2 separate regions of the Homo sapiens genome follow, and region 1 is linked to region 2. Evidence: promoter capture Hi-C in human tissues and cell types (Jung and others, 2019). All regions are on one chromosome and are shown on one strand. The core of a region is centred on a gene start or on the middle of the fragment in contact, and the rest is flanking DNA. Distances in the headings are between cores, read along the strand shown. Region 1 holds the start of HGSNAT (heparan-alpha-glucosaminide N-acetyltransferase). Region 2 holds the start of GOLGA7 (golgin A7).

Region 1 (6,900 bases), core at 2,185-4,684, 1.6 Mb after region 2:
CACTGGAAGGCTATGCTTCTGTTTAAAGAATCAATCTCGACTTGCAGGGCCAATAAAAGCCCAGTGGGGAAGTTGGCCTCATACTCTTGTCTACACAGTCCCTGTACAGGGTTCCTGACCTGTGGTCAGTAAAGAATGTCACTTGCTAACAGGTCCAGGAGCTCCAAGTTTATCCTGGGACCTTAAGAGGAGAGGATCACCCAACCCAAGGTGTATCATGGGAACTTAAGAGGAGAGGATTAGCCCAGTTCATGGCTGGGCTTGGCTTTATCTTATCTGAGATTCCTTGTGGAACAGAGTTCCATCAAAGCCAGTCCAAAAGGCCTTTGTAGAAATAATTATTCTTGCTGCACTTTATGTAAATAATCAGGCCAAGTATAAGACTGAAGTCTATTTTGCAAACAACTGAGTCCTATCATAATTTCTTTTCTTTTCTTTCTTTTCTTTTTTTTTTTTTTAACAAAAACGAGGCCTGGAGAAAAATTATGTTCCAAAACTTACCATAATTTGTCATTCAATTCTAAACTCAGTTGTTTTTAAATTTTTGCCTGCATTTTTAGACTGACCCTGCTTGTGAACCAACCAGCAATCTCCAGCTGCAGCTCAGAAAGAACAAGAGGGATGGGTAATGTAAAAAAATCTGGATTAGTATTCTAGTTATGAGCAATTATCCTGCAAATTCTGCTAGGCAATGGGAATAAATAGGGTGCCCATCATCCAGAGGTTTCCTTTTGGGAAAGTAAGACCAAGGGAGCTAACCAAAGCCAAGCACCATGCACCCAAATCCTACCAAACATAACTGTAGCCACCAGTTATCTGGGTGTGTCACAAGACATCCTTTTCTCTCCCTTGTTGGAGGACTCAGTTCCACAGTTTTTCCTTAGCATTTGGCTTACGAGAAGGAGTCCATGCAACCCCTCAACCCCTGAGCATAAGTGAGGTCTAGGGAACTCCAAGACTACTGACAGCAGGGGTGATAGGGCATTCATGGGTAGAGGAGATAATTCCCACCCTCTAGACCCCTGCTTCATGGATGCAAGCCATTTTGGCACCCATGGTAGCACTTTCGAAGGTTGCATGGGGATGCAAGGATGGAAGAGGACGCTATTCCTTCTATCCCTCACGTACCCCAGGTATTTGCTAGGAAAAGAACCAGGGATGCCTGCTCCCCTCTTTCTATGTGGGTAGCCATTTATCTTCAGTCTGCACCACTTTCAAATGCATCTGGAACCCTTCGGATTCCTTTGAAAAAATGCCTTCTTTTTTCCTTTCTCCTCCTCGGTTCACAATGACAATCCTAATTGTGTCTCCATACTATGGGACACTCCCCTCAGATGCATTTTCCAAACTGGAAAGAGTTAATTTCCTAAACCTTAAACTGGCTGGCTTAGGATTGGTTTCAGGGGAAGGGAACCCAGAAGCCCAACATGCCAGCAAAAGGGTAAAGTTGTTTACCATTCGGACTTTTGGCCCCCTTCTCCGTGTACAAATTGGTAAAAAGCCTCAGGATTTTTGAGCTGTCCTTATCCCTCCCCTTGTTTCTTTTCTTTTCTTTTTTTTTTTGAGACAGGGTCTCACTCTGTCGCCCAGGCTGGAGTGCAGTGATGTGGTCTTGGCTCACTGCAACCTCCGTTCAAACGATTCTCCTGCCTCAACCTCCTAAGTAGCTGGGAGTACAGGCAGGCACCACCACTGCTGGCTAATTTTTGTATTTTTAGTAGAGACAGGGTTTCACCATGTTGGCCAGGCTGGTCTTGAACTCCTGACCTGCCAGGCTGGAGTGCAGTGGCATAATCTTGGCTCACTGCAAACTCTGCCTCCCGGATTCAAGTGATTCTCCTGCCTCAGCCTCCCAAGTAGCTGGGACTACAGGTACTTGCCATGACGCCCGGCTAATTTTTTGTATTTTTAGTAGTGACAGGGTTTCACCATGTTGGCCAGGATGGTCTCGATTTCTTGACCTCGTGATCCACCTGCCTTGGCCTCCCAAAGTGCTGGGATTACAGGCGTGAGCCACTGTGCCCGGCCATATGTGTTTAATAACCCAGTTTGTCTCTTCTTGCCTTCAGGACATCAAACGGTCATGCTACTGGAAGCTCGGACCATGGCCCCTTCTGCTGGGCACCCTTAGATAGGCCTCTGAGGGAGATCTGATTGCCATTTTCCCGAAACAGTGCCCCCTATCAGCAGGAAGCAGTTAAGATCTGTCTTTGTCCCTATTCTTATCCTAGTGGCAGTTAGATAGACTTCTTTAGAGCGAGGAATGAGCCAGATGGGAAGGGTTCCCTGGTAAAACTCCAACTGGCCTGTGCACTGCTCTGGGGTGGAGCCACAGAAGTTCGCTCCTCAGTTTGCAGCTGGGAGGAGCCTGGCCCTCCTCTTCCTCGGGAGAACCTGGGATTTAATCTGTGAGGTGGGAAGCCTACAACTAGGAGAACTCTGGCTCTGCTGAGTCCCTGTTCCCCTTTTTCTTCCTTTACACCCAATAAAACCCTGCCTTACCCTTCAAATTGTCTGCGAGCCTAATCTTTCCTGGCGTGTGACAAGGACCTCCACCGTCTTTAGCTGAACTAAGGAAAAGTCCCGCAACATTTTCATGTGTGCCTTTGTATTTTTATTACATATATGGATGTCCCTAAACAACATACATTATTGTTTTGCTTTATATATTAAAAAGGCATTCTGCAATTTGCATTTTCCCCAGCCTTGTGTTTTGAGATTTATCCATGTGGATGCGGGAAGCTGTAGAGCACTTCCCCTGCTGTGGGGCAGTTTGTTTTCTCGCTGGCGGACATTCAGCTTGTTGACAAGGTTTTGCAATTACAAGCACCTCTGCTATAGGTATTACTGTACCTGTCCCTTATACCTGCGATAGTGTCTCCCGGCATACAGCCAAGAATGGGTGTGCACACTCCTCGACCTGCTCCCTTCCACTTCGTCAGCCTGGCCGGGGGCTCTTTCAAGAGGTGGGGCCGCTTGGTGGCTTCTAAGTCGTGCCTCTCCCTCTGGGTAATAAACGCCTTGGGGGCAGGGACTTTGCAGTCTTGCTTATTGAGGCGTTTTCCAAAACAGGGACCGAGGGCTCTAACACCCGTGCGGAGGGTGGCCGGCGGGGGCGGGAGTTTGGCAGAATGCGGCTGGAGAAGGTGGGGCGAGGGAAGAAGGCTCCTGGCCTGCAGGGGCCTCTCTTCCGGCTGTTTTTCCTCCCGAAGACAAACACTCCCAACGCAGGGGCGCAGAGCCTCGGCTTCTTTCCTGGCCAGCTCCCTCAAGGCAGGGCCTAGCATGGCCCGGCCCAGCCCCTAGGTTCCCCCGCCCGCGGCTCCCGGGCGCCTCCGCCTCCCGCGGTGACTCAGGCGGCGGTGACGGCAGCGGAGGGGGCGATGACGGGCGCGCGGGCGTCCGCGGCGGAGCAGCGCAGGGCGGGGCGCAGCGGGCAGGCAAGGGCGGCCGAGCGGGCGGCGGGCATGAGCGGGGCGGGCAGGGCGCTGGCCGCGCTGCTGCTGGCCGCGTCCGTGCTGAGCGCCGCGCTGCTGGCCCCCGGCGGCTCTTCGGGGCGCGATGCCCAGGCCGCGCCGCCACGAGGTGAGTGCACACCTCCTACCGCCGCCCGGCCGGCTACGAGCGCAGCGTCTCCTCTCCGCGGCGCCGCCCCTATCTCCGTGCGCGGCGCCGAGCGCTAGGCCGGGCCGGAACCGCCCCCGTGGCCTGGGCTGTTGCTGCGACTTCGCGGTCCCGCGCCCCAGACCGGAGGCCGGACTTCGGGGTGCTGCGGCCGGGCCCCGCGGAGGCGGGGGAGGGGGCGGTTCGGACCGCGGCGGAGTGGAACCTGGGCGCCCAGGCGGCGCCCACCCCAGCGGAGCCTGCGTCCTGGCGCCTTCCGTCTAAACAGAGGCCGCGGATCGGGACGCCGGGACCCCACAAACTGGCAGCCAGGAGGCGGGCCAGCCGAGGATCGGGGGGGCTCGGACTCCCCCTGCACCCAGTCCACTGTTCGGAGGGACTTAGAGCAGGGTCCCTTCCCTGAGGGCCTCGCCCCCGAGGACGTGGCGCCGGAGCCGTGCGACCCATTGGCTTCAGCGGGTGGGAAGCCTGGGGCCGGGACGCGCGTTCGCCCCGCGCTGGGGTTGAACCTGCGTGGATGTGCGGCGGGTGAGGAACCGCGGAGAAGGCGGTGGGGGCGCGGCCTGCAGCCCGGTCCCGGGCGAGCCCTCCGCGCGTCTCCCCTCGGCGCGTTTTCCCTCCAGGGTGACTGGGAAGCCGCCGCCGCCGCCGCCGCCGCCTGGGAGGGGCCGGGCTGGGCGCTTTTGCCCCGGGCCCCGGACCCCGGGCGTTTGTCCGGTGCGCTGGCTTAAGAGGCGCTCAGCTCATACCGTGATTGCACAACTGGCTTGCTCTCCGAACTCGGTGGGGAAAACGGTGACAAATACAGATTCCAGGTCTCCATCTAGACCCCTGCACCGGGGAGCCCCAGGCCCTAGGTCCTTCGCACACGCCCCTCCCAGAGGGGTCGGGCAAGCATCGCAAACCCCTTTGGGTAGGAGGGACGGTGGGAGTCACCTGTCTTTCCCCTCTCGCGCCCTTTTCTTGGTCAGAATACGAAGTTTTAGTGTCTGTGTATGGAGTTCAAACGACCCCTCCTCTCCAAGCAGAAGCTGGAGGAGAAAGGCGTTGTGAATTTTGGAAAAGCGGCTCAGAGGATTACATTTTGTGCGATCCTTGATCCACCCAACCTTCATCTCCTGCGCTCCCCTCCTTTAAAATTGCAAGGACCCCGGGGAGGTTATGTAATCTGCCTGATCACAATTTGTCAGGGACTGATCCCGCCGAACACTCTTTGCATTTTAGCGCCAGTATTAGCTTATCAAAGGGCACTTACTTTTAGAGAGAGGTGGTTTGTAAATAGTAATCACACGTAGTGAGGGGAAGCCGCGTTGGGACCGCAAGGCTTTCCCTGTCACCTGGAGCCCATGTTTGGGCCGCACAGCTTTCCTACTAAAAACGTCATCATCTTCCTTCTTTTTGAAAATTCAGCATTTGCTTGAAGAAAAAAAAAAGTAGACTATGTCTTTAAAAATATGCCCAGCAAAGATAACTCACGAGCAGAGAGCTAGACCAGAAATTAAATATTTGGAAAGGAAATAAAGGTGTAATACACAAGCAGCACATTTATCCCCGCACCATTGGAAGGTGACTTTATTTGGTAATTTGCCCACCAAGACGAGGTAGACCAGAGGAGAGAGAAGGAAATAATTGTTCTTTTGTCTGTAACGCTCTGGGGGTATTGCCCTGGAATTTCTTAGGTCAGCTGCTGTGTGGGAAGGTGACAGCTTTTTCTTGAAGCTGAACATCAAGCTCAGTTTCGAGGTCATATTTGATGACTTATTTGATGGCTTAGTAATTGGGTCCTTTGGTCGTGTCTGTAAGTGATACAGACTGTTATTATTATTTTTAAAAACCACATTCAAATAATGCAAAGTGAAAAAAAAAGGTGTCAAAATCCGCTGGCGTTACTCTGACAGTCTCTAGCTGTGGTTCCCTAGCTGTGGTCTTCACCCTCGGCTGCACACTCGAATCCCTTTGGGAGGTTCGTTGTTTTTTGTGGGAAATTAAAAAAATCATGCTGATTGGGCAGAGATTCTGATTTAATTGGTCTGGAATGGGGCCAGGGCATTGGTAACTTTTGTAGTTTTTTTAGAGCTTCCTCAGGTAATTTTGACATTCAATGAAGACTGAGCCCCTCTGCACATTCCCAAATAGCATAGTTAGTAACAATGACAATGAAGAGCTTTCAGCCTAAAATTCGTGTGGATAATCTAAGTATAAAACAAGTACCTTATTCCGCCCACCACCAAAGGCTTAGAGAAACATGAGTACACACAGTACTTATTCCATCTACGAAGGGATGATGATGTGTGGAGAAATTACGAAGGAAAAGCTCATGGCTTCATGGTCTCTTGGGTATGATCAAGTGTAGGAAAAAGTCTACAGAGAGTGACTAGAAATGTGAAAATGGAAGCCATTAAAACTGAAGAAGGGAAATGAAAAAGAACTATTTTAAAACGATGACAAATTGACAAAGGATTTAATATTTTTGTCTTTAATGTAGAGAAGTTATGCAAATACCTCAGAAGGTGTCAGGGATTAAATAAAGGTGGTTAAATAAATAAATGATTCAGGAATTAATATGAAAGTCACATACTGATGGTAAACATTTGGAAAACATGTTCAAACTTGTTAATCACAAATTCAAAACTAAAATAATTAGGACGTGCCATTTTCTATCCACCAGGCTAACATATGAGGGAAACATGGAAAGGCTAATCTGGCTGGGCTTATAGGGAGGGATCTGTTGAGGCTCAGGAGACTGGTTAGCCGTTATGTGCACAGTTAGACTGACCTCAGCTTAAATCCTGGCTGCTAGTAGGTGACTTTGGGCAAGCTGCTTGACCTCTTCAGGCCTCAGATGCCTCATCCCAAAATGGAGACACCAGGAGCTATTTCTTTCTTTCTTTTTTTTTTTTTTGAGACAGAGTCTCGCTCTGTCGCCCAGGCTGGAGTGCAGTGGTGCGAACTCAGCTCACTGCAAGCTCCGCCTCCTGGGTTCACACCATTCTCCTGACTCAGCCTCCCGAGTAGCTGGGACTATAGGCACCCACCATCACGCCTGGCTAATTTTTTTTTTTTTTGTATTTTTTAGTAGAGATGGGGTTTCACCGTGTTAGCCAGGATGGTCTCAATCCCCTGACCTCATGATCCACCCTCCTTAGCCTCCCAAACTGCTGGGATTACAGGTGTGAGCCACCGTGCCTGGCCCACCAGGAGCTATTTCATAGGGCTCTTGGGGCCTGGTGGTTCTTTGGTAAGTGTGGTTCTTTGTATTACCTGGGAGATCTCAAC
Region 2 (6,925 bases), core at 1,495-3,994:
ATTTTGAGGGTAGAGACTGTTTTACCTGTTTAAGGGTGTTCTCAACCCCTAGTAACAAATATGTAGAAAACCAGCTCCTAGGAGATCTTACTGAGTTAGTAAGGAAGCATCAACTTCGGAGACAAACACTAGTAGACATTTAATTCAAAACAGGATCAGATCATGAAACGGAATAGAAAGTCCAAAACAGGCAGACAGAGGGACAGACAGACAGACACACACACACACACACACACCACTGATTTTCTTTTTCTTTTTTTTTTTTTTTTTTTTTTTGAGACAGAGTCTCGCTCTTTAGCCCAGGCCGGAGTGCAGTGGCACTATCTCCGCTCACTGCAAGCTCCGCCTCCCGAGTTCACCCCATTCTCCTGCCTCAGCCTCTCGAGTAGCTGGGACTTATAGGCGCCCGCCACGGCGCCCGGCTCATTTTTTGTATTTTTAGTAGACACGGGGTTTCACCGTGTTAGCCAGAATGATCTCGATCTCCTGACCTCGTGATCCGCCCGCCTCGGCCTCTCAAAGTGCTGGGATTACAGGCGTGAGCCACCGCGCCCGGCCCCCACTGATTTTCAACAGAGATACAAAGGCAATTCAGTGAAGAAATGAGAGTCTTTTCAACAAATGGTACGTAAACAACTGAATAACAACTGCATAATCATACGGGGGGAGGGAAGAGTTTCACTCTATACCTATGGGAGGCAGAAATGCCCTCCCCAAGAGGTCCACACCCTAATCCCCTCAAACCCCTAACGTGTTAAGAGAGTAAAAAGACAAATCACAGACTGTGAAAAATGCATGCAAATCACATATCTGATAAAGGATTTTTCTCCAGAATGTATAAAGAACTCAAAACTCAAAAACAGCCCGGCCAAGTTCTCACGCAAGTATAAAGGCCTCAGGAAAACATCTTTAAACATACAAAAATCCAAGAATTAAAGTGCCTTAAAAATTTAAAACTGACCTTAAGCCCAGCCAATAAAGATGTAAATCAAAACAAAATAAAACAAAAAACCCCTCAACAACAGGAAAATAAAATACAAACAAAAAAATGGGCAAAAGTTTTAAATAGACACTTCACCAGAGAAGATACATGGATGGCAAATAAGTACAGGAAAATATGTTCAAAATAATTAGTCATGGAAAAATGAAAATTATAGCTGCAGAAGATATTACTACCCAAGTCTTGGCAAAGATGTGGAGCAACTGGAACTCTGGTGGGAATGCAAAATGGTGTCACCACTTTGGAAAACAGTTTGTCAGTCTGCCAAAAAGTTAAACGTGTTTTTACCGTACAATCTAGCCATTCTACTCCTAGGTATGTACCCAAGAGAAATGAAAGCATTAAGGTCTACACACCTATGCAAAGACTTGCAAATGAATGTCCATAGCAGCTTTATTTGTAACATCCCAAAACTGGAAGCAATCCAAATGTCCATCAACAGATGAATGGATAAACAAACTGTGGGATGGCCATACAATGGAATAGCTATCCAGCATCAAAAATAAATGAATTATTGATAACACAACAACAGATGGACTTCAAAATAGTCTATGTGAAAGAAGCCAGGCAAAAAAAGGGGGTACACACTATATGATTCAATTTATATAAAATTCAAGGAAATGAAACTAATGTTGAGTGACAGAAGGTGGATCAGTGCCTGGGAAATGGGGTCTGGGAGAGGCAGGAGGGAGAGATTACACAGGAGCTGGAGGAACCTTTTCAGGGCAATGGAGCTTTACTATCTTGATTGTGACAGTGGTTTATGGGTGTATTCATATGTCCAAAGTTATCAAATCCACTGCTTTAAATGTGTGGTTTATTGTATGCCATTTATATCTCGAAAAAGCTGTTTTTAAAATACAGTAAGAGAATTTTTCATATTTAAAAGGCAGGATATTTAAACTATATTAAATATATAAAAGACAGTGGTACTAACAGGTTGTATTAGCAGGAGACAAGGGTAAGGTGGGGTTTCTTTGGCTGCCTTGCAAAGAAATGCTGAGTCAAGTAAGGGCCAGTGGGCAACGAGGGCGGAACCACTTGTCCCCTTGGTCACCTGAGGGATGTGGATGGGAGCTGGGTGGAAATGGGGGGTGAGAGGAACGCCGCCCCCAAAGAAGAGTCGGGGCAGGGGCGCCCAACGCTGGGGCCCAGGCAGGTTCTTCGTCCTCACTTCCTGACCCTTTCTCAAGAGTCTAGGGACCAAATGGATCCATCCTTGGAGCCTGCTTTCTACTTCTGAACACAATGAGCAGTTTGTGTTTGAGGGTTTGGGGAGGGGGTGTTGTTTTTTCTTTATGTTTTGTTTTTTGTTTTGTGTATGAGTTGGGTGGCATAACCCACACGTAAGCTGCGACGTCCAATCAAGAACGAAAATGACCCCTCACAATCAGTGATCGGGAACCACCTGCCACAATCACTAGGGAAGTGACACAGCCGGGAAACTCCGCCCCTCACACCCCCGCGCGCTCGCGCCGGCCGCAGCCCCACAGCTCGCCCCGGCCGCAGCCCCACAGCTCGCCCCGCCTCTCTCCTTCCGGAAACAATCCCCGCGCGGGCGGAAGGCGGGGTCGGCCCTGGCCCCGCCCACATCATTTCCCTTCCTCGGCCCAGCCCCACAGCGCGCAGCTTCGGCAGGGTGGCTTTACGGCCGGAGGAGAGGGTGGGTCCCAGACCTGAGGTAGGAGGCCGAGCTGAGGGGCGGGGAAGAGGCTTTTTGCGGCAGGACGTAAGTGACGGCGAAGGCGGTGCGACAGCAGCTGGAGGGCAGAGGAGGCGGGTTTGTGTTTCCCGGGCCGAACCGGGTTGTGGGGGGCGCGGGGCCTGGGCCAGGCGGCAGCTAAGGCCCGCGGTGACAGCATGGGTGAAGGGGAGCGGGGCAGAGGAGGCCTTGGGCTGTTTTCGGCGGCGGGTGGGGGCGAGGGGCTGGCGGGTCAGAGTCCCGGGTCCAGGCCGGGGCTCTGACTCGCGGTTGGTGTTCCCCCGACCCCGCAGCGCGGGGTGTCCTGTCCTCGCCATGAGGCCGCAGCAGGCGCCGGTGTCCGGAAAGGTGTTCATTCAGCGAGACTACAGCAGTGGCACACGCTGCCAGTTCCAGACCAAGTTCCCTGCGGAGCTGGAGAACCGGGTACGCAACCTGGCTCCCCACGCCTGCTCTGGCGAGGGAGAGAGACTCACCGGGGACGGGAAGGGTGTGGGCGACAACCGGGCCTTTGAGGGTCCCGCAGTTCTGGGGAGGTCCAGGCACAGAAGGGGCCTTGGCCAAACGTGTAAGAAGAGAGCCACTAAGCAAGACAGGTGTTTGGAGCAGGAAGAATAATATAGGCCGATCGCCGGGGTTGACGACCTTATGGAACTTTGTTGCCCGGTGCCGGGAATCTGGATCCAGCAGTGTTCCCCTGCTGCACTCCCCCAAATCCCCACCCCGGGTTATTGTCGGCAGCGATGAGGAGCCAATTCCTGAGGCTCCAGGTCGTCTCAGTCACCAGGTTGTAAACTATATCCTCCTACCTCTCCGCGCAAGATAAATCATCATCATTCTCGTGACTGGTGTTTGCTGCCTCTGTGCTGGCCGCACTGTTTGGCTGAAAGGGTTTATTAGGTGCATGGCCAGGCGGTGCGTTCAGGCTTTCTTGGAACCTTAAAGACGTCGGGCGTTAGATAGGCCTGGACAGGAAAATGTCTCAGAACAAGGCCTTAAACTTGTCACATTCACTGGGAGCCACCTGTTTTGTCTTGCATATCAAAATGGTCATCAGGATATAGGTCCTTTGGGCAACATTGCAGGCAAAAATGGAAGAATGGGATTTGCTTCCCCTTCAGACCTAGCAAAACTTTAAAAAAAAAAAAAAAATCATTGTATCTTGTTGTAGAGGTAATGGAGTGTGTGCGTGCCTGCCTGTGTTTTTGTGTGCCCACATATGTACATTCAACCAAAGATTCTTTTGGTCTTGACCCATGTTATGTAGATTGTGTTTCCCGTTCAGGGATCAATTTCTGGTTAGCTGGAAGCAGGTTTTGTGGCTCTCTCCTCTGTGACAGGGAGGACGAGGGCCTGAGAGGTGATTAGGCATTCCTTGGGTGTGGGACTGAGAGATGCTGGTCATGGGATAAGTGGGTGTGGATGAGTCTGTGTAGAGAAATGTGTAGCAGTTATTTACAGTCAGTTTGCAGTGAGGTGGGTTGCACTGCCCGATTTCCATGGTTGGGAAATCAACAATGATCCATTATAGTTTCCTTCAGTTTGACATAACCATGGGCAGCTTCATGGCCCAAATATGTTTCTTGAATTGCAAATGGATCAAATATGCCTTTAAAAGATGGTGAGGTGACTTGTTTCTGAAATGCCATTTAAATGCTGCAGTATGTTGTCAACTATGTTATGAGTTAACTGAGCGTGACAATAGGTGGAACTATCTACAGTGGTTTGAAGAGGTAGAAATTCAGCAAGTGGCCAGTTGGGTAGAGCTACTGAATGTTGTTTTAAAATAATTTAACATCACAATTGATGTGTTTTACATGTTAAGATTGACATGGAATCTGGCTGGGCCCGGTGGCTCACGCCTGTAATCCCAGCACTCTGGGAGGCCGTGGCGGGTGCATCACTTGAGGTCGGGAATTCAAGACCAGCTTGGCCAACATGGTGAAACCCCATCTCTACTAAAAATACAAAAATTAGTCAGGCATGGTGGCGGGCACCTGTAATCCCCGCTACTCAGGAGGCTGAAGTAGAAGAATTTCTTGAACCTGGGAGGCGGAGGTTGCAGTGAGCCGAGATCATGCCATTGTACTCCAGCCTGGGCGACAGAGCAAGACTCTTGTCTCAAAAAATAAATCAAATAAAAAGATATACATGGAATCAATCAAATGTTTTATTTTTAAGCCTCTTACGGAAACTATGACATACAATTTATGTACTTCAAAATCAGAATATAAAGTATTCTTTTTTTACCACAATTATTTGGACATTAAAGATTCCTTTGCTTTAAGGTTTTAAAGCAACACTTACACCTCATATATTTGAGCTAAATGTGTATACACAGAATCAGACATTAGCCTTCCACTCTGTGTGTGGCAGAGCCTTTATTTTGTAATCTAAGTGCAAAAGCACAATGTAGTTACTGTGCTCCACTGATTCTTGTCAGGAAATTGATGTTTCTAAATTCTGGAGTCCTTTTACCTCTTTGACTCTGTATAGCCCAGAACTGCTTGTGGTACTGAGTACTATATGGAATGTTACATGGCACTCTTCAATTGTGCCTTTGAATTTCTTTTTTCTTTTTAAATGTTTGGGTTAAAACACTAGCTTATGCTTTAAACCACTAGAAAAGCTTTGATTGTCTGTGTATGTGTGTTGAGATTAAATTTAAATTACAGGTTTAAACTTTCCTTGCTTTGATGAAAAATTGAAAGGTTTCTGTTTCTCTACTACTTACCCTAGAAATTTTACTGATTGCTCTGCTATTGGAGCTGATTTTCCTTTTGTGAGAACATCACACTTGGCAACATAATAGAGAAAGTGACTAATATGCAAGTGTTTTGTATTATTTTAAAGCATTTTTTAAAAATACACACACATTTGTGCCCTTTAATTTGGGAGTAGGATAGGTTCTGTCTGTTAACAAGTTCATTTTCTCTGCTGCCTTTTAGAATGTAATACTTTGATGCTTAAGCGATTTGTTGCCAGAACAATTCCTTAAAGGAAACTTTATTCTCATTAGCCTTAAAATACAGATATCTTAGTTACCCTTGGTCTGGGTAGAAGAATGAGTGAACTGTAATTGAGGCATTTTTTCCCTTTAAAAATATGTCTCCCCATCTGGTTAGTAATTACCTTTGACCTGCCACCCTTGATACGTGATCACTGCATGCTTCACCATGCTTTCTACTGTGTAGTTCACAGTAATTCTGGGAAAATAAGCCTGATTTCTCTTTCCATTCTGATTTTTGATGTTTGTGGGTCCAAATTTTATTTGGCTGTGACTTCTCATATATCTAAATTTTGATAGAGCTCCTGTATCAGTGTCCAGGAACCTAAGGGAGAACACTGGCCACTGTTATTCATAGCCTAAAGGTAGTAAGATACAAATGCCAACATTTGTTCTCTTGAGCCCTTTCTTGTGAAGTTTGTCGTTTGCCTTTATTGATGCCTTCTGTGATTTTTACCCTTTATTTCCCTTTTTTAAAATAACCTTTCAAAAACTTGTTGGCATTTACTTTTCTTTAACCATTTATCCTTTCTTTTTCTTTTTTTATTAACCTTTTTTTGTTTGTTTGTTTAACTGACGTATGATTTACCTCTAACCTATAGGGCATTGTAATCTCGGAATAACGCATAAGAATTAAGTGTTTCTGGCTGGGCATGGTGGTTTGCACCCAAGTAATCCCAGCTGCTCTGGGGGTTGAGGTAGGAGTATCCCTTGGGGCCAGGAGTTCAAGACCAGTCTGGGCAACATAGCGATACTCTGTCACTAAACTTAAAAAATAATAATAATTAGGGTTTCCGGGATAAACAGTAATTCTGATATGAAAGAAATAAGATGTTTCTGGGTTGAATCCCATGGTTTTGAATTGTATTGTAAAGAAATATAAATAATTCAATGACTTATAACATAGGCACATCAAATGTGATTGGAATTATTTAGACTTTTGTAGACTTATCGGTGGACAAACTGAAGGCATTAACGTAGGCATAATTAGGTGAACGTAACAGCTTACCATTTTTGTTTGCTGAGCTCTCCTCAGTCTGTTTTCGTGAATGAGAACTCACAGTTTCCCAGATGACCAGCCTTGACACCACATCTACAAGGGGTAGCTCAGTGAAGAAACACTGCCCCTGCGTTTAAAGGCCGTCTTGACCCACCTAGCCTTTGTCCAAATCTCTAATATTCCTGGAAATTTAAAGTAACTCCTTTTGAAAAATGG

The links. Contacts are between HindIII fragments. The study calls those that stand out against the background at their distance.
Region 1: the fragment with the promoter of HGSNAT here is called in contact with the fragment with the promoter of GOLGA7 in region 2 in 1 of the 25 tissues and cell types used here (aorta).

The regions. Positions count from the first base shown.
Region 1 is chr8:43,137,030-43,143,929 of GRCh38, forward strand. It overlaps HGSNAT (heparan-alpha-glucosaminide N-acetyltransferase), which reads left to right and starts at 3,435. Exons shown (of 18, transcript NM_152419.3): 1 at 3,435-3,585. The coding sequence starts at 3,468. RefSeq lists an enhancer at 2,097-2,391 and silencers at 3,235-4,024, 4,035-4,414, 6,613-6,662. The HindIII fragment of the contact is 19,681 bases long and covers 1-6,900 here.
Region 2 is chr8:41,487,838-41,494,762 of GRCh38, forward strand. GOLGA7 (golgin A7) reads left to right here and starts at 2,745. Exons shown (of 5, transcript NM_001002296.2): 1 at 2,745-3,128. The coding sequence starts at 3,018. RefSeq lists a silencer at 2,376-2,635 and enhancers at 2,686-2,815, 3,106-3,215, 3,266-3,375. The HindIII fragment of the contact is 13,455 bases long and covers 1-6,925 here.